Linked DNA regions of Homo sapiens: region 2 is linked to region 1. The links are contacts of gene promoters, found by promoter capture Hi-C in blood cells and fetal thymus (Javierre and others, 2016). All regions are on one chromosome and are shown on one strand. Each heading gives the region's core, a stretch centred on a gene start or on the middle of the fragment in contact. The rest is flanking DNA. Distances are from core to core; before and after follow the strand shown. Region 1 holds the start of SSTR1 (somatostatin receptor 1). Region 2 has its middle 200 kb from the start of LINC00639.

Evidence for each region. Contacts are between HindIII fragments. The CHiCAGO score rates a contact against its expected background, and 5 or more counts as called.
Region 2: a fragment that was not itself captured here is called in contact with the fragment with the promoter of SSTR1 in region 1 in 1 of 17 cell types (endothelial precursors); the score reaches 6.3 in endothelial precursors.

Annotation. Positions count from the first base shown.
Region 1 is chr14:38,206,574-38,211,885 of GRCh38, reverse strand. SSTR1 (somatostatin receptor 1) reads right to left here and starts at 3,982. Exons shown (of 3, transcript NM_001049.3): 1 at 3,782-3,982; 2 at 3,277-3,443; 3 at 1-2,840. The coding sequence starts at 2,496. The coding sequence ends at 1,321. LOC124903303 (a long non-coding RNA gene) reads left to right here and starts at 2,599. Exons shown (of 2, transcript XR_007064117.1): 1 at 2,599-2,804; 2 at 3,610-4,671. RefSeq lists enhancers at 1,129-1,831, 1,832-2,535, 3,519-4,180. The HindIII fragment of the contact is 9,392 bases long and covers 1-4,326 here.
Region 2 is chr14:38,718,460-38,723,932 of GRCh38, reverse strand. No RefSeq gene overlaps it. Among named protein-coding and RNA genes, the nearest start is that of LINC00639, 200 kb to the left of the region's middle. The HindIII fragment of the contact is 1,429 bases long and covers 1,984-3,412 here.

The DNA.
Region 1 (5,312 bases), core at 2,733-5,232:
AGACCTGGGGCTAGGCAAGCAGAGAAAAGGAAAGCAGAGACACATTTTCCAACACGACAAATAAATTAATAAATATATATGTTAAACAAGAAAATAACTTCTTAGGCACCGCTTGAAAGGCAGCAACCCTCTAGAGACCAGGCAGGCCCCACTCGGGAGCCTGCAGGTTGCGGCGACACCGCCAACACTGGCGGACTCTGAAGACGTCGCCCTAGGTCCCCCGCCCCTGGCGCCCGGTCTTTTGAGATACACTGGAGCAGGAAACCTTATCTATTGTTACTTTTAGGTCGGCTCCTCCGGAAACTTGGGTGAGGGAGAAAGCCAAGGCGGGCTGCAGCCCTGCAACCGAACCCCGAACCCCGAACCCCGGGGAAGGTGTGCCCTGCACTACCCTGCCCTGCCTAACGCAGACGCGCGGCCCGGGAGCGCCCAGCGCTTGGTCTTTGAAAACGCGCAGTAGGAGGGTGATTCCTATTACGCGCCCACACTCCGACCCCGCAATCTTATAAAAACTCCTCATTCGGCTTGTTCTCAGCTCCTTCTTTGCTCCAAAGGAGGGCTTGGGTGGGAACTCCAGAAAGCCTGGAGTTCGAAGCGCGGGACCTATTTTACTAAGCACCTGGCTCTACTCTGGGTGGAGTGAGAGTGGTGGTGGCGGGCGGGCGGCGAGAGGGGGACAGGGGAGGGCAGGGAAAGATGCACCTTCACCCAAGAGTAGGAGAAAAGACCAGCTGCTTAGATCTTTCTCAAGTCCAACTTTCCTTAAGGTAGGGCTGCGCAAAGGGAGAGCGGTCATTCCCGGGACTCCAGTAGGGGCACCAGACAGAACCTGGACAGCGGCCCCGCGCGGCTAGGGACTAACGCCGAGGGAAACCCGTGGCGGTATCCGTGGCTCAGCTTAAACAAACAGAAATAACGACTGGAGGGGCTGAGGATCAGAATGAGTTGTTAATGAGTTCGTGATCTGCACTGGCGGGACGGTGCGGAAGAAAGGATAGAAGTTGCAGGGTAGGGAAAATAGAAGGAGGGTCAGAGGAGTAAGCGCAGTGGAGGAAGGAACAGAAAGTGGGAGACCCAGAAAAAGGTAGCCTGAAAGCCTTCCCAGTTTATAAGCAAAGCTCTCACTTCTACCATTGTCGCGCGCCTTTCTTGGGTTCCTCCATCAAAGGCTGTCAGTGTCCTAGCCCCACGTTATCCCGACAGCACCCTGGCGCCCTGGATACCGTCCCTTTCGCACCCGGCCTTCCCTTCTCATTCTCCCCCTCTTTTGGCTCAGGGCCCCTGCGTGGCCCGGGCTCAGAGCCCCTGCGTGGCCCGGGCTCAGAGCGTCGTGATCCGGGACGTGCAGGTGCCATTACGGAAGACGCCGCCGGACTCCAGGTTCTCAGGTTGGAAGTCTTCCACACTGTAGGCACGGCTCTTGAGCGCGGTGGCGTAATAGTCAACCGGCTCCTCCGCGGCGTTGTCCATCCAGCTGAGGCATAGGATGCGTTGGAAAGAGCGCTTGAAGTTGTCTGAGAGAAAGCCATAGAGGATGGGGTTGGCGCAGCTGTTGGCATAGCCGAGGATGACCGACAGCTGACTCACCGTGGCGTCGTCCTGCTCAGCAAACACGTTGACCAGCTGCACCACGTAGAAAGGCATCCAGCAGATGACAAACACCATCACCACCATCATCACCATTAAGGTGATCTTGCGCTCCGAGCGCTTGCGCTGCTGCCAGCCGGCCTTGAGGGCCACCATGCGCATCTTAGCAATGATGAGCACGTAGCACAGGCAGATAGCCCCCACGGGCAGCAGGAAGCCCATGAGAAATGTGTACAACACGAAGCCCACCAGCCAGCGTTGAGCGGGCTCTGGCATGAGCATGTTGCAAGCCACCGTGCCGTCGCTGTTGGCCGCGGTGCGAGAGAAGACCACGATGGGCAGGATGACGAGCAGCGATAGCACCCACACGCCCAGGTTTACTACCTTGGCCACGGTGGGCCGGCGGTAGCGGGCCGCCTTGATGGGATGCACCACGGCCACGTAGCGGTCCACGCTGAGCACAGTCAGACAGTAGATGCTGGTGAACATGTTGACCGCGTCCACGCTGAGCACGAGGCGGCAGAGCAGCGCACCGAAGGGCCAGTGGCGCAACAACGTGGAGGTGACTAGGAAGGGCACGCTGAGCATGAGCAGCTCATCAGCAATGGCCAGATTTAGGATGTAGATGTTGGTGGCCGTCTTCATCTTGGCATAGCGCAGGATCACGTAGATGACCATAGAGTTCCCACACAGCCCCACCAGGCACACCACGGAGTAGATGAAAGAGATCAGGATGGCGCTGCCCTGGCCCTCGCTCAAGGTCCCGTTCTGGGACGCATTTCGCCCTGGCTCCTCCATGCCGTCCGCAGCGCCGGCCCCGGGGCCCCTGCTGCCGCCGCCTTCGCCGCAGCTGCCCGGGCTGGGGCTAGGAGAGGAGGAAGGAGAGGAGGCGGTGCCATTGGGGAACATCCCAGCTGAGGGGGGCCAGTGGGGCTGCCAGGGCTGGGGCTTTCTCCTCGCGCACCCGCCGCCTGCGCCCTCCCTCCCCACCCGACCGCTTGCCTGCAGCCCACAGCCGCCCAGCGCCTCCGGGTAGAGCGCAACCGCTGCGGGGAGCGCGGCTCCTACCGGCGCCGGCGGGGCGCACAGCCCAGCGGTTGCCTGGGCTCTGCAGTTTGCAGCTCCGGGGTGCCCGGGCACAGGCGACCGTGGAGAGGAGAGGCCAGGATGTGGGAGCACCGCACGGCACAGCCATTAACTGGCGCGGCTCTGGACTGGTAAATGATTAATAGGCACCACCAGCGCGTCAGCAGCTACGAAAAAAGGGGGTGGGGTGGAGAAAGGGAGGAGAGCACATAGGTGGCTTGTCCCCCCCGCCCCCCATTTTTTTCCTTCCCAGTCCTGCACTCTGCTCAACTTTAGTGGCTCCTTCCGGGGTTCCCTCGCAGCACCATCTGCCTCTTGCTCTCAGAGGAACCAAGAGAGTTCCTCGGCCTTACTGGAGGGCGGGTGGGAACCAAAGGTATAGATTCTGTCTCATTCCACTCCTCTCCTACCCAAAGCAAAGACTCAAACGGATCCATGAACATGGATGTCTGGAGTTCATCTCAGTTTCCCTCCATTGCTGCCCTTTTCTCTGGAGACCCCAGCTTCTCTCCCGTCCCGCAGTCCAGAACCCTAAATTCCCTCTTCCCACCCTCGCTTGCCTTGCAGCTCAGACCCGCCAGGGAAGTTCCGGGCCCTCCTTACCCAAAGTGCGCAACCTCCAGACTGAGACGTAGATGGTCGGTGCAAAGTGCATGTGCGGTCTGTTAGCAGGTTGACGATCTTCGCGCAGACCAACTCCCTTCTTTGCGCCTGGCCCCAGCACAGGTGCCCACGCAATTACTCTTAGAATCGCGGAAACTGGCCCTAAGCTGCGAGCGTTATGAGAAGAAAGGACAACCACCGTGCGTTAGGGGCTTCTGCGCTATAACACAGCAGGCAGCTTAGGCTATTGGGAGTGTTCAGGGACCTGAGTGAACCATTCGCAAATCTCTTAATAAAGCTCGTAGCGCTCAGAGCCCCCCGTGTCTCCCACAGGAATATCGACTGCAGAAACGAGGACGCGCAGCTGGGAGCTCTGGAGGAGCTTGAGACTCCCTCCAGAAACGTGCCAGGCGCGGTGTTGGGAATCCACCTAGGTGTTCACTCGGGAAAGATAAGGCTGCGCCGCTTGGAAGGGCTCCACCCGCGTCCCTGCTGTACTTTGTACCCTGGAGAGTTGGCGGGTTCTGGCAGACGAGAGTTTAAAGGCTTGGGCGGGCGGGGACGCCAGCTCTTCTAAATCCAGGTGAGGAGCTGCCGCCGTGCGATGACCAGACCTGTCACCAACCCCAGGAACGGCAGGGCGACATTCGAGTTTTTCCGGGAAGAGCTAGGATGTCAGCTCTTTCTGAGGCTTGATTTGTGAGCTGGCTCTGGGTCACGTGCCCAAACCATTAGGAGATATCAATGTAGGCAAGCCTGAAGCTCACTGACTTCATTTAAGAATCAAAACGGTTTTCCCGTAAGAAAGAATGTATGTTCCGTTATCAGGATTTTAAACGAACCCTGGGACTTACCACCATTCTTACTCTAGGGTCTCTTTGGCTTTCCAACTGTTCCTGTGGAAGGAAGAATCACACTCCATGCAACTTCCCTGTTCCTTTTCATAAACGTTGCTTTGCTCGGTAAGATCCCTGCAAGCCTTTATTTGAAACTAGCCTGTTCACAGGAAGAGTGACCCGCAGCAGCTTAGTGCTCTGCCTCCTTCAAGCTTTGCTGTCTCCAGTTTTTCCTTAGTTTCTCCTTCTCCTCAACCAGGCTGTGCCCGCTGTACTGTAAGTCTCAGTTTTCCTCCTCTCAGTAGAGTTTACTCCAAGGAGAGGCTAAACTCCTCATGGAGGCTATCTGTACCGGTCCAGAATGAAGAAATGGATGCAGAAATTAAAAACAAAAAAGTATATTTCCTAATGCCCTGTTGCTTTATCCAGGTAATCACTTACATATACTGCATGTGTTTTAGTTCCCAAAACTAATTGTCTTGAACAGGAAAGAATAACTTCTGTAGTGTGTTGATGATAGCAATCAAAGACTAAAATAAATGACAGACTTTCATAGGAATGTGTGCAATTATTAATGAGGAATGTGCTAGGATGGAATTTGAAATTTCATACGGCTGAAACTGTTTTAACCCATTATTTTACCTGAACAAATTGCCTTCTTTAAAGTGGAATGTACAATTGGTGTTTAGTTATATTTATTTTTCCTTTACAAATACAGCACATATGGAGAGAAAATAAATGTTCATTAAGTTAAAAGAAAAGAGAGTGGGTATTGTCCCAGAATCCCAGAAGAGCATTTTACTAGCCAAGCCTCATATAATGCCTTAGATGCCTCTGCCAATCACTGACTAAAGACACCTGACTATCTGTACCTCTGGGAGCTTGGATTTCAACAGTCATTATTTAGATGCCTTGGCTTTGATCATGGTTGCTCTTTGGGAAGTGTGTGATGGGAGTCAGTGAAAAACAGCTCTGTTGTTCAGAATTTCATTAAATTCACTTTCAGCTCATCTTAGGGAAAATTTCTCTCAATTTTGTGGCCTCATATACAAAAGAAGAAAACTTAAGACCTGACGTGAGAATGCTTTTTATTTTTATTTTTTTGAGATGCCACTTTTCACCCACTAGGATGGCTATAAGAACATTTTTAAAAACAAAAAATAAACGTTAGTGAGAATGTGGAGAAATTAGAACACTCAT
Region 2 (5,473 bases), core at 1,449-3,948, 510 kb before region 1:
GTTAATTAGTATGATTAGCTCCGTTATCTTCATGCTTGCATTTTTAAGGACTTTAAAGTCAAGGTACTGTTTCACAGATGATTATTTGCAGACAGTTAATTCTTGAGTTATTGTCTTGGGATGGCCGTTATCATATTAGCATGCCTTTTACATTTCTTGATTTTTAAAGAAACATCTCATTTTTATATTCCATTTTAGAACTTTCATTGTCAGTAAATATTACCAATGAGCTTCCGTTCTGTCAACAACATTTTCGTGTCACGTATTTTCAAAATATGAGATTTCAAATTCCAAAATGATTTGTTTCTATAAGTTTAGGGAAGTGGTGGTAGTAAGCATTTCATTAATAAAGTTGTTATAATGAGTACTCAATGTGTATTCAAAGTGTACCTGTTGATAATTTGAAGCAGAACAAAAGAGGGGGAAAAGAAAAAGAATGTACCACTAGGTGCCACTCTGATCTTAAAGCTTGAACCAATGAATGACAATTGCAACAATGACAGTGGTGGTGACATCAATAGACACTTTATGATAAAATGGAGGTAGTTTTTGTGACTATAATATTCTAAATTTAGGACATGAAATTTTAAGCTTGATGAGGATTTTGTCTGAAAATGACTTTTTTCAGATGCTTTGCAAATACTTTGTATTAGTTGATATTACTAAATCATTTATGAAATTAGCAAATGTGGAAGTATTGCTGACTTTTATAAAGGAGAAAGGTGTGGTTTGATGATCCTAGGATAGAGAGTCATCAATTTAGCATTGATATCAACTTTCACTATCATAGTAATAAAGCTATTGAACTATTCTTCTCTGGCTTGGTTATCCAGAAGAGATATCTCTTTCTCAGGAGTGTCATAAAAGACACTTGGTTAAAGTGTGAATAGTGTTCTGATTACAGTAATTGTTAAATATTATTATGTAAAGCGAGGTAATGATAGTAAAAATAAATGAAATGCATGAATGAAGCAGTTACCTGGTGATCAAACTACAAATAAAACATCAGTCCTATGTGGTGATTAAAAATTCTCTCTTCATAGAATATTTCCAAATAAAGAAGTCAAAGACAGTTTTCCTGAATTGTTGATATTTGACTTTCAATACAGTTACTGGTTCACAAAAAACCACTTAATTACCAGACTAATCTAATTGACCTAGGATAGCAGTGAGAGAGCTGTAAGGGGCTCTCTCTTCTTCACCTAGAAGACTTTACTGAACAAAGTCTAGGAGATCCTTGAAATTGTTAGCAAAGCATAAAGATATATACATATGTGTAGGTTCAGCAATATACATGTATCTCATTGGAACTTCAAAGACACTCATCAAAAAAGGGTTATATCCACTCTTCTAGGGTATTTGATAGTGGCAATGGCTAACATCACATCCAAGGGCTTGGTTGAAGGTAAAAATCAGTGCGAACGAACATCAAAAGCAACTTTCAGTGGGAAAAGTAACAAAGTGTCAACCTGAGGTCTCAACAGGAACTTTGGTTGTCATATGTAAAGCAATAAAGGCATTCCTTAGGACAACCTATACACATATGAGGGCCAAGAATTTTTTGTTTGTTTAGGTTTTTAAGCTCTGTTTTAAAAATCACATCTTCCCTCAAGTGCTGCAAACATAAAATCATTCCTGTCCTTTTACTCTCAAAATTGTGGTCCCTTTCTCTCTACCTTTCCCGAAACCAAAGGCCTGTGTGTGACCTTTGAACGAACTCACCCAACCTAGCAAAGTCATGATGCATTATTCCATGATGGGTGGGCCAGTGGGAGGGCTACCATTACAGAATACTTTCTCTTGGACTAGAAAGGTTTCCTAGGAGAATGAAGACAGAAGTTAAGTATATTGAAGAACTGGCAGAATTCATGCACTCAGTTAAAATGAAGAGACACTGCCTCCTGGAGGCCTGTATTGGGATAGCCGTGGTACAGTGTGAGGAAATGAGTAGTTTACACTCCCAGCCTAGATGGAATCAAAGCTTATTCCAGCCATGGCTGAGAGTGTGTCTGGAGACATAGCTAACAGAGAATTTATATTTTCTGACTGACAGTGAAAAATGAATGTTTTCACACCGTGGTAACTAAAATTTGGGGCAGTCATCTTTATTCACATTTGAATAAAACACCGATTCATGACAGGCTTCAGGTTGCTTAGTCAATCAGTTACGCGGCCAAAACTGCTGCGTCTGAGTCTCTTCCTCTCTGCTGGGCAGTTCCTTTTGGTTGTTTTTATTAGGTCTCAGTGTTACCTCTCGTGTGTTTTTCTTCTGTTATGTGCTCCAACAGGACAGAATTATTAGATCTGTACTGTCTTTGTAACCTAATTATTTTCCTGTCTCACATACTGCATTGATATATCCAGGTTTCCAAACATATGTATAGTTACAATTACACTGTGAATTTAAACTACTTAAGTCATATTATTTTAATCTACCAAAGATTTGAAATATTAATAACAACAGCACATGAAGATTATATTTTGGATTCTAATTTAAGAGAGTATACCTGTGATGGTTAATACTGAGTGTCAACTTGATTGAATTGAAGGATTCAATCATGGATTAAATTATTGATCCTGGGTGTGTCTGTGAGGGTGTTGCCAAAGGAGATTAACATTTGAGTCAGTGGGCCGAGAAAGGCAGACCCACCCTTAATCTGGGTGGGCACAATCTAATTAGCTGCCAGCACAGCTAGAATATAAGCAGGCAGAAAAATCTGAAAAGAGAGACTGGCCTAGCCTCCCAGCCTACATCTTTCTCCCAGGCTGGGTGCTTCCTGTCCTCAAACATCGAACTCCAAGTTCTTCAGTTTGGGAACTCAGACTGGCTCTTTTTGCTCCTCAGCCCACAGACGGCCTATTGTGAGACCTTGTGATCATGTGAATTAATACTTAATAAACTCCCCTTTATATATATGTCTATTCCATTAATTTTGTCCCTGTAGAGAACCCTAATATAGTACCCACTTAGACTATTAAATAATTAGTCATCTTAAGGAAAAGAAAATAGCAACACATACTTAAATTGCATTGTACTGTTCTAAGCACTTCACATATATTTATTGATTTTTATCACCATAACAGACCTTATGAAAGAGATACTATGCAATAATATAATTTATATATAATCTGATCTTATTCTAAAAAAAGAGAAGCAAATACCTAGACATGTATTTGGAAATAGTACCTTTAGTTTGGGCTGCTGTGTTTCTTATCTGGAGTCTTGACTTAAGGCCCCTGGATTTGCAACTGTCAGCTAACAGCTGACAACTCTCACCTGGTATGTCAGTCAGATCCAGAAAATAACAATAATTTGCAAATAGCTCTTTAAAAACTCAGGCTTTTAGGACACAAAATTCCTCACCTGGAATGGCATTTGTCTGATGAGTAAGGAGAGATGACTTGAGAAGCTTAATGAGAAAAAATGTGTTGAGTCCAAAAGTAAATATAATAAGTTCTCAAAGAAAAATCAACCTTGTAGTAAATGGTCTTAGAAATGTCTAATGTGCATCACAGGATAACCTGTTTAAAAAATGTGACATATGCAATGGATTCCCAAAAGGTTTGTATGCACATATGGAGAGAGAATGGCCATATGGGATGAAGAGGGAGGGGATGTAGGTAGTGAAGGCTCGGACTCAGGAGGCTAACAGTGTCAGAGAACTACTTGTATAGCACTTGTAGGCTAATTGTTGGGTGGGAGAGGCAGAGAATGCAAGGAACTCAACACAGTATTTGGTATAGTAACAGGCCCTGTATGCTCGAGCTACAGTGTTGATCATTACATTCAATTAGTCAGAATCTTTTTAAGTAAGGTATCTACTTTACCATTTTTTAAAGATGTGAAGAAATCAGAGCATGAACTGAGACAGAAACACAATATTTATTCATCAATTCATTTGTTCAACCTACTTTTTGCCACACATTTTGTTTGGCATTGAAGATACAACAATAAACCCTTATGAGGCTTATATATGGAGTTCATGGAGTTGCCATGAACTGAGATTAAAAAACTGTAGGAGGAGGTTTGGTTTGGAGTGAGGAGAAGAGTAGACCTCAGTTTTGAAGATGCTTAGTTTGAGGTTTTTTGTTTTTTTTTTTTGAGTTGGAGTCTCACTCTGCTGCCCAGGCTGGAATGCAGTGGCACGATCTCGGCTCACTGCAACCTCCGCCTCCTGGGTTCAAGTGATTCTCCTGCCTCAGCCTCCAAAATAGCTGGGACTATAGGCATACGCCACCATGCCCAGATAACTTTTGTATTTTTTAGTTAGAGACAAGGTTTTACCATATTGGCCAGGCTGGTCTTGAACTCCTGACCTCAGGTGATCCACCTGCCTCAATCTGCCAAAGTGTTAGGATTACAGGCATGAGCCACAGTACCCGGCCAGTTTGAGGTTTTAGATATCTAAGTGAAGATGCTGAGCAGAGAGTTAGGTAATGAAAAAAAGAGTTTAGTGAGAAGCCTAGGCAGGAGATACACATTTGGGAGTTTTGGTAATCACTAGTGTCATTCACCAAATATTTCCATTTCACCTTCTAATATGGTTTTATGTTAGAATTGTATTTTTCTACTCATCATGGCCCTGTGACTTGCTCTGTCCAACTAAAATCAAGTGGAAATAATACATGTTACTTCTGGATGGAAGCTTTAGTAATTAATGCACAATGTCACATTCTTATCTCTGTCACAGCAGCTGGCAGTACTCTTTATGGTAGCTGCTCTACGAGCTGTGTCCCAGAGAAAGGACAACATGGGATACAATACCTAGGCAAACCACAACTGAAAGGCAACATGAGTGAGAAACCTTTCTTAAGCTACTGGGACTGGGGTGTGGTTGTTTTTAACCCAGGAAGACTTAGCCTGTTCTAACTTGAATGGGAATCATGATAGATTGAGAGATGAAGCTAGAGATATAGACAGATAATAAGAAAGAGAAGTTCCAGGGCAAGGGAGGCTGGGAGTATTCCAACATTGAAAGGTTGGGGAGTAAAGGAACCAGCCAAGACTGAGAGGAAGCATTTGAGACCATGTGGTGTCCCGGAAGTCAAGTGAAGAAAGTGCTTCAAGAAGGAAATAATGTTTAACCAGGTCAAAGGCTGCTAAGTCAAGTAAGATGAAGAATCTGGATTTCCACTTTGGAGATCATTGGAGAGCTTGGCAGGAGCAGTTTTGATGGAGCAATCAGGCAAAAGCATACTCCGAGTGGGTTTAAGTGAGAACAGGAAGAGAGAAACTGTACAGAGCAAGTCTATTTGTTTCAAAGTGTGGAAATGGGGTCATACCAGGACAGGAAAGTGGGATTGTGAGTGCCTTAAAAAAATGATAGAAATACTGCATGTTGAGTACAGATGGGAAAATAAAACATGTAGGAGGAAGGGGCAATTGTGGGAGTTGTATCCTTGAGCAGAAGAGATGGAATTAGATTTACGTGTTCAAATGGAGGGGTCAGCTTTGTTAGGAAATGGGTGGTCA